Regions from separate parts of the Homo sapiens genome. Here region 2 is linked to region 1. Evidence: promoter capture Hi-C in human tissues and cell types (Jung and others, 2019). All regions are on one chromosome and are shown on one strand. Each heading gives the region's core, a stretch centred on a gene start or on the middle of the fragment in contact. The rest is flanking DNA. Distances are from core to core; before and after follow the strand shown. Region 1 holds the start of MST1R (macrophage stimulating 1 receptor). Region 2 overlaps TRAIP (TRAF interacting protein).

What was found. Contacts are between HindIII fragments. The study calls those that stand out against the background at their distance.
Region 2: a fragment that was not itself captured here is called in contact with the fragment with the promoter of MST1R in region 1 in 4 of the 25 tissues and cell types used here (lymphoblastoid cells, neural progenitor cells, spleen and 1 more).

Annotation. Positions count from the first base shown.
Region 1 is chr3:49,901,702-49,907,681 of GRCh38, forward strand. MST1R (macrophage stimulating 1 receptor) reads right to left here and starts at 2,172. Exons shown (of 20, transcript NM_002447.4): 1 at 679-2,172. The coding sequence starts at 1,908. RefSeq lists enhancers at 523-1,196, 1,197-1,870, 2,507-2,556, 2,545-3,217, 4,192-4,351 and 1 more and a silencer at 2,097-2,316. The HindIII fragment of the contact is 20,801 bases long and covers 1-5,980 here.
Region 2 is chr3:49,839,501-49,845,480 of GRCh38, forward strand. It overlaps TRAIP (TRAF interacting protein), which reads right to left. Exons shown (of 15, transcript NM_005879.3): 4 at 5,041-5,080; 5 at 4,301-4,428; 6 at 2,953-3,047; 7 at 2,326-2,439; 8 at 1,485-1,572; 9 at 784-873; 10 at 272-360. Among named protein-coding and RNA genes, the nearest start is that of TRAIP, 14 kb to the right of the region's middle. The HindIII fragment of the contact is 9,996 bases long and covers 1-5,980 here.

The DNA.
Region 1 (5,980 bases), core at 922-3,421:
TAACAAGCTCCCAACTTCCAAGGCCCAGGAGGCTCCCTGGAACGTGGTGGCTGGCAGAAGGATGGGGGTGGGTGGGGGGAGGGGGTGTGGAGGAAGGGGAGATTCTCTGACAACTCCCGTCCCACCCCCTTTGGAAAGCAGAGCAAAACAAGGGAAAGTGAAACTGTTGGCAAGCAGCTGTGAGTCTGTGAATCTGTGAGCATCTCCCTGTGTATTTGTGCGTGGTGGTGGTGGTGGTGGCGGGGGTGGGGGAGGGGAGGGGGGAGTGCTATTTTTCTGCGTGTGTCCCTGAGGATATGGGTGGTGGACAAGTAGGAGGGAATGCCCATCATTCTACCCAGCATTCAGGAGCTATGCTAACAGAGACACGGTTATGTAACCCTATCCTCACATAGCCAGGGAAACTACCTAAAAAACCAGAGGCCATGATGGGCAGGTAGGGGAAAGAGCAAGATGAGGCAGCCACAAGGGCCAGCCTGGGAGCTAAGCCTCCAGTGTAGCCTTTGTCTGGCTGGTTTCTCACACCACCCCAGCACTTAGGAACTGGGTGAGAGAGAATGCTTCTTTCCGCCTGCCCCCCCACCGCGCCCCCAGATCCCCTCAGTGATGGAAGGGAAGCAGCCTGTGTTCAGCCATGTGCATGCAGCTCACAAGTAAGGGCCCCTTCTTTCAGCTTACCGGGTTGGGGCAAAAACTGGGCGACTGGAAGAAGTCGAGGCCTCGCCGGAGGCCTGGATGGACTGGGGATTCACAACAGCGCTCCACACCCTCATCAATTAGTGTGTCCAGCAGGTCAATGGGGAAGGCACAGACGACAGAGTTGGGGCCCACGCCAGGACCACCATCCTTGCCAGTCACAAAGACCCCAAATAGTACTTCCTGGCCCTCGGCGATGCTCAGCTCAGTGGCAAGTTGGGCACCCACTGGAGCGGAGTGGGCCACCCGCAGCACAGGGTAGGGCTGTCCGCCTTCTGGGGCCCCCCGGCGCCTGCGTTTTGGAGCAAATCTGCAGTCGAGGACCAGCTCCCGATAGTCACCCAACTCTGGCTCAGTGGCGCTAAGCCGTGCCAGGCGTGTGTGCAGGGCACTAGGATCATCTGTCACGCTGGCCGGCTGTACAGTCAGGAAGTATACGAAGGCTCCCGTGTGGAAGCTGTGCACGTATTCAATACTGTAGGAGACAAGATGCTTGGGCAGCACTGACAACGCCACAAAGCCCGGTGCGAATCCCGAGGCGTCAGCCTTGAGACGCCTGATAGACACTGAGCGTGGGCTGAAGCTGGCAGCCACGGCTGCGTCCAGTGAGGATGCCACGTAGAAATAGGAGGCCTGGCCTTGCTCAACCACAGTTACACGGGTGCCCAATGGGCTGGCCACACAGTCGGGGCAGTCATCGGGCCGGTTATGGTGGGCTGAGAAGAGGCAGGCTGGCGCTGCCAGATGCACGGCTGTCCCTTGGGGCTCTAGGTCATGCAGGAAGCAGCGGCCCTGCAGGCTGGAGCCACAACTGACCAGCGCAGGCAGCGCGGGATCCAGCACCAGCACCTTTGTGTCTGTGTCACCGGGAGGGCCGTGGGGTCCTGGGCCACAGGCTGCACACGTCTGGCAGCCAGGGTCTCCAGCAGGGCCCGTGGCCAGGCTCTGGACAGACTTCAGGTCAGGCCCAAGCACATGCAGGCGATTGCGTATGGCTACAAACACAGCACTCTCATTTCTGTCGCCCTCGTAGGTCACCATGGCCTGTACCAGGCCTCCGGCGGAGAAGCTGGGCACCACGTACTTCACGTCAAAGTCGCGAGAGGCCGCGTAGGGGGTGCGCGGGCACTGCCAGTCCTCGCCCGCCGCGGGCTTGGCAGGCAACAGCAGCAGCAACAGGAAGGACTGAGGCAGCGGCGGGAGGAGCTCCATCGAGGCGAGCTGGGACCCTAGAGGATCCCTACCGGCCTGGGCCTGGACCTGGGCGTGGGCCTGGCTGGGGGCCCGACTCGAGGTCTGGACTGGGCCAAATTTAAGCAGCGGTCCCGACAGCCCCAAGATAGCGGACCCCCGCCCCAGGTTCCTGTGAAACCCAAATCCCTTCCCGGCCCTCGGGTCTGAGCACCTGACGCCTGCGGACGCACGACAGCAACGCCCCAGCCGCCTCACCTGCCGCCCCAGCCGCCGCTGTACACTGGCGCTTAGCGCTCAGCCGACCCGAGGGCGCCGGGCTGGGCGGGCGGAGTCGGGCCGTGGGGGCGGGGCCGCGAGGAAGGCTTGGCCTAGCCCAGGCCCTCCGCCCATCCGACTCTTCCGGCCCTTGGAGGCCTGGCTCCTGTACCTTCACCTGGCGTCTTGGCGCCTTTTTCTCAGCGGCCTGTGGGTGGATGTGCATGGTGTGGCCTGGAGAGAGGTGAGCCAGTCTGAGCCGTCCCATCCCATCCCCCCACTACCGACTGGTTCGCAGCGAGAAGGGGGGCAGGACACTGGGCTCTTTGCTTGCGGTGGAACTAGTTTGCACTTAGTAGCAACACCCTCAGTGGCTGGTGCCCAGAGGTGGCCTGGGGGCCCACCATGTGGAGAACAGAGACCAGGATTGTGTGGAAGACCAGAGGGGAGATGTGGGGCACTTACAAGAGATGTTATGGGGCGCCACCCTTTGTGGGAAAGGACTGTCCTTTTTTTTTTTTGAGAAGGAGTCTTGCTCTGTGGCCCAAGCTGGATTGCAGTGGCGCGATCTCGGCTCACTGCAAACTCCGCCTCCCAGGTTCAAGCGATTCTCCAGCCTCAACCTCCTCCTGTCTCAACCTCCTGAATAGCTGGGATTACAGGCGCGCACCACCACACCCGGCTAATTTTGTATTTTTAGTAGAGACAGGATTCACAGTGTTGGCCAGGCTGGTCTCAAACTCCTGACCTCAGGTGATCCGCCCGCCTCAGCCTCCCAAACTGTTGGGATTACAGGCGTAAGCCACCGCGCCCGGCCGGGACCATTCTTCCATGTGCTTCTCCTGAGCTATCAGCGACAAGATGGTGTCAGAGGAAGGTGTGTTATGCCCTGCTCTCCCAGGGCCATAAGGGTCTTAGGATGGGATCTGGCCTTGCTGACTGGACCTCAGAGTCAGAGAGGCACGTAAGTGGAGGCCCATACCTCCTCTGCAGCCTCAGTATATGGAAGCTGTATAATGGGGTCCACAGTATGGGCCTTGGGGACTCCCCCTTCCTTCCTGGCTCTACCCAGTGCCCCCCTGATATGGAGGAATCATGGGCTTTGGCTCTCAGGACACTTCCAACATGCTCTGTAGGCCTTGCTGGATCTTATTCTCTTCAATGAGAATGTAGTTCTGGGCTGGGCACCGTGGCTCATGCCTGTAATCCTAGCACTCCTTTGAGGGGCCAAGGCAGGAGGATTGCTTGAGGTTAGGAGTTCAAGACCAGCCTGGGCAACATAACAAAACTCAACAAAACAAAAAAACTGCTAAAAATGTTTTTAAAATAAAATATGTGACCGGGCGTGGTGGCTCACGCCTGTAATCCCAGCACTTTGGGAGGCCGAGGCGGGTGGATCGCTTGAGGTCAGGAGTTCAAGACCAACATGGTGAACAGACAGATCTGGCCAACATGGTGAAACTATCTCCACTAAAAACAAAAATTAGCCGGGCGTGGTGGTGGGTGCCTGTAATCCCAGCTACTAGGGAGGCTGAGGCAGGAGAATAGCTTGAATTTAGGGGGTGGAGGTTGCAGTGAGCTGAGATTGTGCCACTGCACTCCAGCCTGGGTGACAGAGCGAGACTCCATCTCCAAAAAAAGAAAAAGAAAACGTAGTTCCGACTAGGTGATTTCCCAGAGTTCTCTCTTCTGTTTATGAGGAGTGGGGGTGGGGGAGCCTAGTCCCACACTTGGATCTCAGCAGCTGCCCCTTGGTAACTGGTCCCCCAACACTAGACTGAGGCCCCTGGGGGACAACCTTAGCCTGACAGACCCCTCAGTTAGATAGGCCTGGACCCTAGAAGACAGGGAAGGTCCACAGGGTGGGTCTGGGCTGTGAACTATGGGCCCCAAGGCTGTAGATAAGGAGGCTGGGGGAGAGAGGAGCCCTCAGCCCAACAGGATTTAGCCTGGCTTGGGGAGCTATATCTCCTCACTCCCCTTTCAGTTCATACTTCTGTGCCTGCATCCCCTTCCTAACCTGACCTTTGTAAGTGCTGTTCCTCCTTCCAGGAGCACTCTTTCCCTTTTCTCCTTTTGCCACCTAAATGGCACCTCCTCCAGGAAGCCTTTTTGATCCAGACTTTGCCAGTCCCCTCTCCTGGGTCTCACAGACCCAGTGCTACACTCACCCCAGCACAGTTTACTCTGGATACTTCACTTCCTCCATCCCCAGTGCAGGACTCCCCCTCCTTCCAGCCTGGAGCTCCATGAGCACCTGAAGACTGAAAGAGGAAATGGAAGTGGGGGCGGCCACACCCAGTGCAGGGTTGATACTGTGCCCTGAGGTGACATAAAAGACACTCCTTTTCCAAAGCAGAATTGGCCAGGAAATGAATAAACACCCGGAGAAAACCGTGGCGTGGTTCCTGCATTCCACAGTCAACACATCTAAAGATAGGCAAGGCAAAACTAAAATGAAACATTCTCAGCCTGGCGCACAGACAGGGGTTCTGGTGACCCAAATCCCACCTCCAGACTTTCAGAGGGATCTCTGGTGGTTGGGAGAAGACTTCACAAGCCCTCTTAGATCACCCCACCCACCCCTTTTTGGGGGTGGTGTTGCGGCAACCATCCGTTAGTTCTCCGCTGCCACCGTGTGGCCGCGCTAATGGCTGTCCCCAGGCTGAGGTCCCCTGTAAGGCAGCCTTGGTTCTCAACAGCAGGGGTACACAGGAGCACCCCTTCCCCCTCTCGCCATCTGCCGCCTCTATAGGAGGGGGCAGTCAAGGTGTGTGGGGGAGGTCAGCTAATGGGACTCTTAAGTGCCAAGTACAAGGGCACCCCCAAGCTAACATAGCTGGCTAAGAACCTGCTCGACTGCCCTAGCACCTGACGCCTTGAAGGAATACTAGCCACTTTTCCCTCCTTGAGCTCTCAGTCCCCTCTGAACACTGTTCTAGAGAACTAGGTCTAACCTCTTTCTCTAATCCCAAGATCACCTTAGCAGTAGCAAGGGAGTCTCTCTAACTGTAATATGACCACATCACACTGCAGGTTACCTGGAGTTTGAGAACCCCAGCCCTTGTGTGGACCACTCCAGCTTCACTGCAAACAAGTTATATTAGGTTCTTTTTTTTTTTTTTTTTTTGAGACGGAGTCTCACTGTGTCGCCCAGGCTAGAGTGCAGTGGCGCAGTCTCGGCTCACTACAACCTCTGCCTCCTGGGTTCAAGCGATTCTCCTGCCTCAGCCTCCTGAGTAGCTGGGACTACAGGCGCACGCCACCATACTCAGCTAATTTTCGTATTTTTAGTAGAGACAGGGTTTCACCATGTTGGCCAGGCTGGTCTGGAACTCCTGACTTCCAGTGATATACAATCCTTGGCTTCCCAAAGTGTTGGGATTACAGGCGTGAGCCACCATGCCCGGCCTGTACTAGGTTCTTACCAGGTCCTTCCCTTTGCACATGCTGGCTCTTCCACTACGAACACCTTCCCTATTTGTCTGTCTTCCCACCCCTGATCTCCAAGCAGGTACACCCCACACTCCTAGGTGCCTATAGTCCTAGGTATACACATTTATCCAACTATGATCTCCCCAGAATATATGCTGAACTACACAGAAGCTGAGAAACCTACAAGAGTCAGGGCAACCAAAAGAGGCACTTAGGGGCTCACTGTTGACCAGAATGCCAGTAACAATCAGGGACAGCTGGCTTGGCATCACCCAGGCCCCAGAGGCAGTGGTTTGGTGTTCTTACTAGGAGCAGGGGAGGAACAAAAGCAGAAAACAGGCATAAAAGAGACCCAGGGCATGTGTGCAGGGTGAACAGCACCCACCAAGCCTATGGCTGC
Region 2 (5,980 bases), core at 1,245-3,744, 62 kb before region 1:
CCATAAACAGGATGCCCCAAGACAGTCAGTGCTTCTGCCCTATTCTCAGACCACTTCTAGGTCCTCTGGCCTTCTCTGGCCTCTCCGTGTCAGAGCCTAATTTGCTTCAAGGCTGCTTGCCAGCTAAATCTTGGCTGGCTCCCAGGGCAGGCTGTCTGCAGACATCAGGTCCACAGAGGTCACCCACCCCACCAAAGCCAGGAGGAGTAAAGACTGTTACCAGAAAGCTCTCCCACCTTGTGACCCCTGTACCGCCCAAGGCTCAACAAACCTCTCTAAAACCAGGCGGTCGACAGTCTCACTGGCCACTGGTGGCAGGTTCAAGGTTTCCTGCAGCATCGTTAGCTTCTTTTTCAGGCTCTTGGGGAGGGAAAGAAAAGTGTGTGAGAGAAAGGCTGAGGCATCAAGTCCGGAGATAATGCAGAGGACATGAGCAGCATGCATGAAAGGCCAGCCCACTGGGAACAGAGCAAGGCCTGATACCTCATCATTAGGCTCAGGAGGCCAAGCCCCAGGTAGAGCCCCTCCTCTGATAAGGGACCTCAGGGATGTAAGTGCAGGACAGACTATGAGGGAAGACTCATGGTTCTGTCTGCCCTCTGTTGAGGAGGCCCAGGCTCCAGTCCGGACCAGGGCCAAGGGGCACACCCTGACCCAGGAGGATGCAGGGGCCCAGAACCACCACTGACTGGTGCAAGGGTCCTGGGCAGAGATAGCCCAGCCCTGCTCTGGGAGGGCACACAAACCACCCCTCATTCCTGTCAAGCCAGGGATGTCCCTCACCATGATTTCCTTGTCAGCACTCTGTAAGTCCTTCTGGGCTGACTTCAGTTCTAACTTGGCCTGATCCAATTCAGAGTAGACTGTCTGCAACTATAAGAAAGTGTAGGGAATGAAAGACAAGCCAAGTGGTAGCCTTGTGCCCTGCCCCCTCCTGCTGCTCCCCAGGGAGTGATCAAGGTAGCCCAGAAGAGACTAGAGATATGGGCAGAGATCCCAGCTCTCTGAGGCTAGGCCTCAGTCTGGCAATGCACATCCGGAGCTGCCTAGAAGCAAAGGCTGCTTCCTACATCCTGCAGCCTGTGGATGCACCATGCCAGAAGTAAAAGCAGCTGTGCTGACCGAATCAGGTTCCAGGAGCCCTTCTACTCCAGATGTGGTACAAAAATAGGCCTCTGATGCTGTCACATTTGAGGCCTGTGCTCTCCAGCCAGCTGAGAGGTACCCAGGAGCCAGGAAGAGCAGAGGGGAGCATCAGTGTCCACATGTTGGGGGATACCTCTGTGATCTGTCCACCCCTAGTGGACAAGCCACATATTCAGGCCAATGCCCAGTAAGGACTGGTAACAAATTTCTGTAAGTCCTCCAGCTGCCCCAGGGAGTCAGCTGTGCCATCAGGTCCCATGGCCTTGCTCAGGAGACCAGAGTGAACATGACAAAAGGAGAGCCACTTCTCCTTCAACCTCTGTTCACTGCTAAGTTACCTTGCTTCTGGAGGAAAACAAATCCTTCCTCAGCTTGTCAGCCACCTCCCCTGAGGCCTTCCGTGCCTCTTTTAGATTCTCGTACTCTCTGCAATGTGGCCATGGAAAGAGATGCCAGAAAAGAACACCTGCAGGTCAGACTGAGCCACAGCACTAATCTAACACAAAGCACTGCCCAACCCCTCAACTCACTCTCATTCCTACTTTGACACCTGAGCCCAACAAGTACCAGGTGGCACTGTGGAGGGTCCTGCAGAGAATGCAAGGAAGTGACTATTTCCTCCTGCCTGTCCTGCAGGCACTGGTGACTTGAGAGGGCATGCAGAAAGCCCCAGTCTCACTAGGGGGCTCCCTAAACCACCTGGTCTTAAAGGAGGCATCTTGGACCCTCTATGCCTCTCAGCTAAGTGGCCCTCCACCCTTCCTGCCAACCTTACACCCACCAGAGTGAAGAATATGAGTAGAGTTTGATCCCAGCCAGGCAGGATCATAGTGCTAATGGGGAACAGGCTCTACATATCAATCACAATGGGGCTTATAGCCCAGAGAGCTAGGTCAACTCCCTTAGAAACAGCACTTAAGATTCACACTAAATCCTCAACAATCCTATGAGGCAGGTCTACTACTATTTCCATTCAGGAAGTTGAGGGTCAAAGAGGCCAAGAAACTGGCAGCAGGCCACATAGTTGCTGAAAGGTGGAATCAGGGTTCAAACAAAGGCAGCATGGCTCCAGAGTTTGCCCCTTAGTTCCATCTGCTTTACAAGAGATGGGGAGCAATGACACGGCTGGGGCCCCATGGCCTATCTCCTGTGTTTGCTGAGAGGGGCCACAGTACGCACTTCTTGAGAGACACACAGTACACAGCCAGCTGTTCCACCGCTGACTGTCCCACACCCATGTCTCGGATCATCTCCTCCACCTCAGGGCGCTGGCTCTGGAGTAGAAGCTCAATCCTGAAAAATACACCCAGCCCACGGCATTTGCAATCTGGAGGCTGATGGGTAGGTACCCAGTGCCGCTCTGCCTTCCTTTGCTGCCGTTGCTAAGGTAACAGGCTAGGCTGCCAGGATGCTTTAGTAGGTGGGTGTGCCCAAGGAAAGGCCCTGTGGCAGAGATGAGCATAGCTCCAAGGATGCTGCTGAGAAAGAAGAGGTGCTGAAAGAGGGTCTCAAGGTCAGGGATTTCCTGGAGAGAGGTTTCTGGAAGGAAAGACCCACCAGGTCATCTGGCCACAGGCAGCAGAGACAGGGAGGAATGTGGCAAGGGCTCCCATTCCTTGGAATGGGGGAAGAGTTCATAGAGGCTAAGATCTGTGCCCACACCCAGCTGACCTGAGCCCTCCATGGCCTATGGAGATTTGAGCCTCGGACATGACCCAATCCCACTCCCTGCTGCAGTCCTAAGAACTGTACCACTTGCAGGCCCTGGGGGCAAAGGCACAGTGCAGGACCCAGCTCCAAACTCACTGCTCCATGGTCTTCATCTTGCTCCTGAGCCGGCGGGCCTCCTCTTGTGCTTGTTTGGTCTCATCCTGCTGCTGCTCTAAGTACTTCATCTGCTTCTGAAGAGCAAATACACCCATACCTGATGCTTGGAGGCCCTCAGGAGCCATTGCTAAAGTCACTAGGAAAACTCTGCTCCAGAACTCTCTGCAGCTTATGTTTTGAAAATGCTGATAACCATGTACTCCCAAACCCCAGGAGGTAAAGCTCCTGGGTCCCACTCTCGCTTGTGCTTCTTCTTCTAAAAGGCTCTAAGCCAGCTGCTTCTTCACCTCCCTGCCTGCTTCCTCCTGAAAGGTATCTTACAGTAGACACAGCCCACTGCCAGCATTTACAGGCCCACTGTGGGCTGCCAAGGTCCAGTGGTCTGGGCCTCATGGTACATGTTGTGCAGGTGGCTGAAGAAGTCCAGAGCACAAACCCAGGCCTCACCATCCAACACCCAGACCCATGGACAGTTGCCAAGAATGAATAATTGAGCCAGGGGAAGCTGGCCAGGCTGCCTTCAGCCTAAGACCACTTGTCTCTGACCTGAGAATACCATGAGAGACTCCTGCTCTGCAGCCAGGTGCCAGTTTGCTCCCTCCCACCAGCCAGACCATGTGATCCAGCCCAGCCCCCAAGCAGGAACAGAGACAATGAATATCCTGGGGCCTTGTCTGTTCACAAGGATGGCTCCCTTTCCCTTTCAAATGGCATCCAGCAAGGACTGCTCCTGCCTACAAGGCCAGAATATCAATCGTGGGTTCAGATCAATCGCCTCTCATGCCCCTTGGAGAGCAAGAGGCTCACCAACCCAGGCTGATGCAAAATTCATCTGGGTCTAAGGCTGTTCACTCTGCAGACTTTGATCTGGTTGGTCAGCTCAGCACAGCTGACTTCAAAGGCCCTTGCTCCTCCCTAGGATGCTGTTTGATCTGGCTCAGGAGAGCAGCCCAGCCAAGGACTAGAGTGCTAATGGAAGGTTCTTCAGGCTGGCCTCATCAGTAGAGTATGAACCACTTTCGGAAATATGGCCCAGCCTCACTGAGGTCTTAGTTGAGCATCCCCTCTGTGAGGTACTGGGAAGGCCTTGACTCTTCAAACTACCTAGTACAAAACCCACAAGTATAGCCAATATGGCCCTTTTCTTATGGGATGGATGGGTACAGTATGGAAGGGCAAGGGGAAGAAGTGATTTGCCTCTATTTTACAACTCCCCAAACCAAGGTGATGACTGGAGCAGAACCAGAAGATAAGCCCAGAATGGGGAGTCCAGTTCTGGGGCAATACCTCCCTATGAATTCTGTACCCATAAAACCTGAGGACCTACTTTCAGTGTGGAGCACAGCATCTCGGCCTTGCCCAAGGCCTGCTGCAGAGATACCACAGTAGCATTGCGTTCTTCCAGCGTATCCCGCAGAGTGTCGATGATGACCTGGCTGTCTCGTTTCTCCTTGTCTGGAGCAGGGGTAGAGGGCGGAGGAAAGGGAAAGGCCTGTCCATCCATCAGCAGAAGAACTTGGGCCCTTGGATTCAGTGCCTCATCCCTTAGGCAGGTGAGAAACAAGGCTCAGGCCTGAAAGCTGGGTGGCCCGCTTCTTTCTCTGGGATGTGCCAAACCAGAGAAGCTGAGCCAGAGCCTTCATTCAGGGAAAAGCCCACCTTCTGCTGCTTGAACTACTTAGGAAAATATTTTACTGCCCATTCCCTACCTGCCATGGGTCCAGTTAGTTCATCAACCCAGGACTCAAGCAGGTTCCAGCCAAACTCAGCAGCTGAGCCCTCTCCCGAAGATATTCAGTCCCATCAGGTAACCCCCTCCCATCTTGGTTCCTGGGCAAGAAGCTGCACTCAGAGACAAGAGGCTCACCTGGTCTAGGTGAACAGCTTCAGTCACCTCCCTTCCCTCTCTTTTTCTGCCCACCACAACAGCTAGCAGGACTCTTGGACATACAAAGCAGGGAAAGGCCCTGGCTCTCCCAAACGGTTTGAAACCTTCCTCCTAGGGCCCCCTTCCTCCAGCATCCAAGTCAGGGGCTTCCCAGCACCCCTCGTCTCTTGCTAACTCACCTTTCTGGGAAAGCTGGGCTCTGACATTGTCCAGTTCATTCTGAAAGGCAATACCCACAATAAGCAGCAGGAAAGCATCATAGCTGACCTCCACGTGGTCTCCCATAAGGCTGTGGGGAGCCCCAGGATTGAACAATGAGGCCTTCTAGGGCATGAATCCTGCAGTGCCTCAAGGCCAAGCTAAGCTAACAATGGAAAGATAAGCACTGCTGTAGCTCTATGTGCCCTTTTGAAAAGTAGGTAAGATGGAGGAAAACAATCTCAGGGGCAAGGCCCCAGGACAGGTAAAGAGGTAGAATAGTGGAAGGGAAGTTAAAGTAGGGCCCCTGTGATCAGTCTCCATAGCAGAAGTTTCTATCACTTCCTTGGCCTCATCGCTCTATGTTGGTCTCATTCCCTCTGGGCATCAGCTGACTCACCAGGGACACACAATAGGAATGGCCAAGGACCTTGGGCGACTACTCCTCCTCTCCACCCTGGGTCTTCCTGATTCATAGTCGACTTTCCTCCAAGCTCTGAACTGGCTCTGTGTACCACAAACCTTCCAGACCTAGTATCCAATGGAGGTAGCTATGCCAGGACAGCTTTGTACCCCTGGATGAAACCTCCCATGTGTCTAGTCTCTAACTAGACTATTGTGAGGATCAAGTGAGCCTCTCAAAGCCCCTGCAAATGTTTCACAGCCATGCCACAGAATCATTGAGAAGCTGTGGCAGAATTGAACCCAGTTCCTGTTCAGGATGCCACAGAACTCAACATCCCCATGAGCAAGAGAGGTGCCTGCTCCATAACAAAGAAATCCAAGGTTTTACAAAACTGAAACGCTTGACCAAGGGTCCATGGTGGTAGCTAGATGGAATCCAGGCAAACCTTACTGTAGATCACTTGTCTAAGATCAACAGAAGACTCAGAATTTCACATGTGACCAATAGTATGGCCC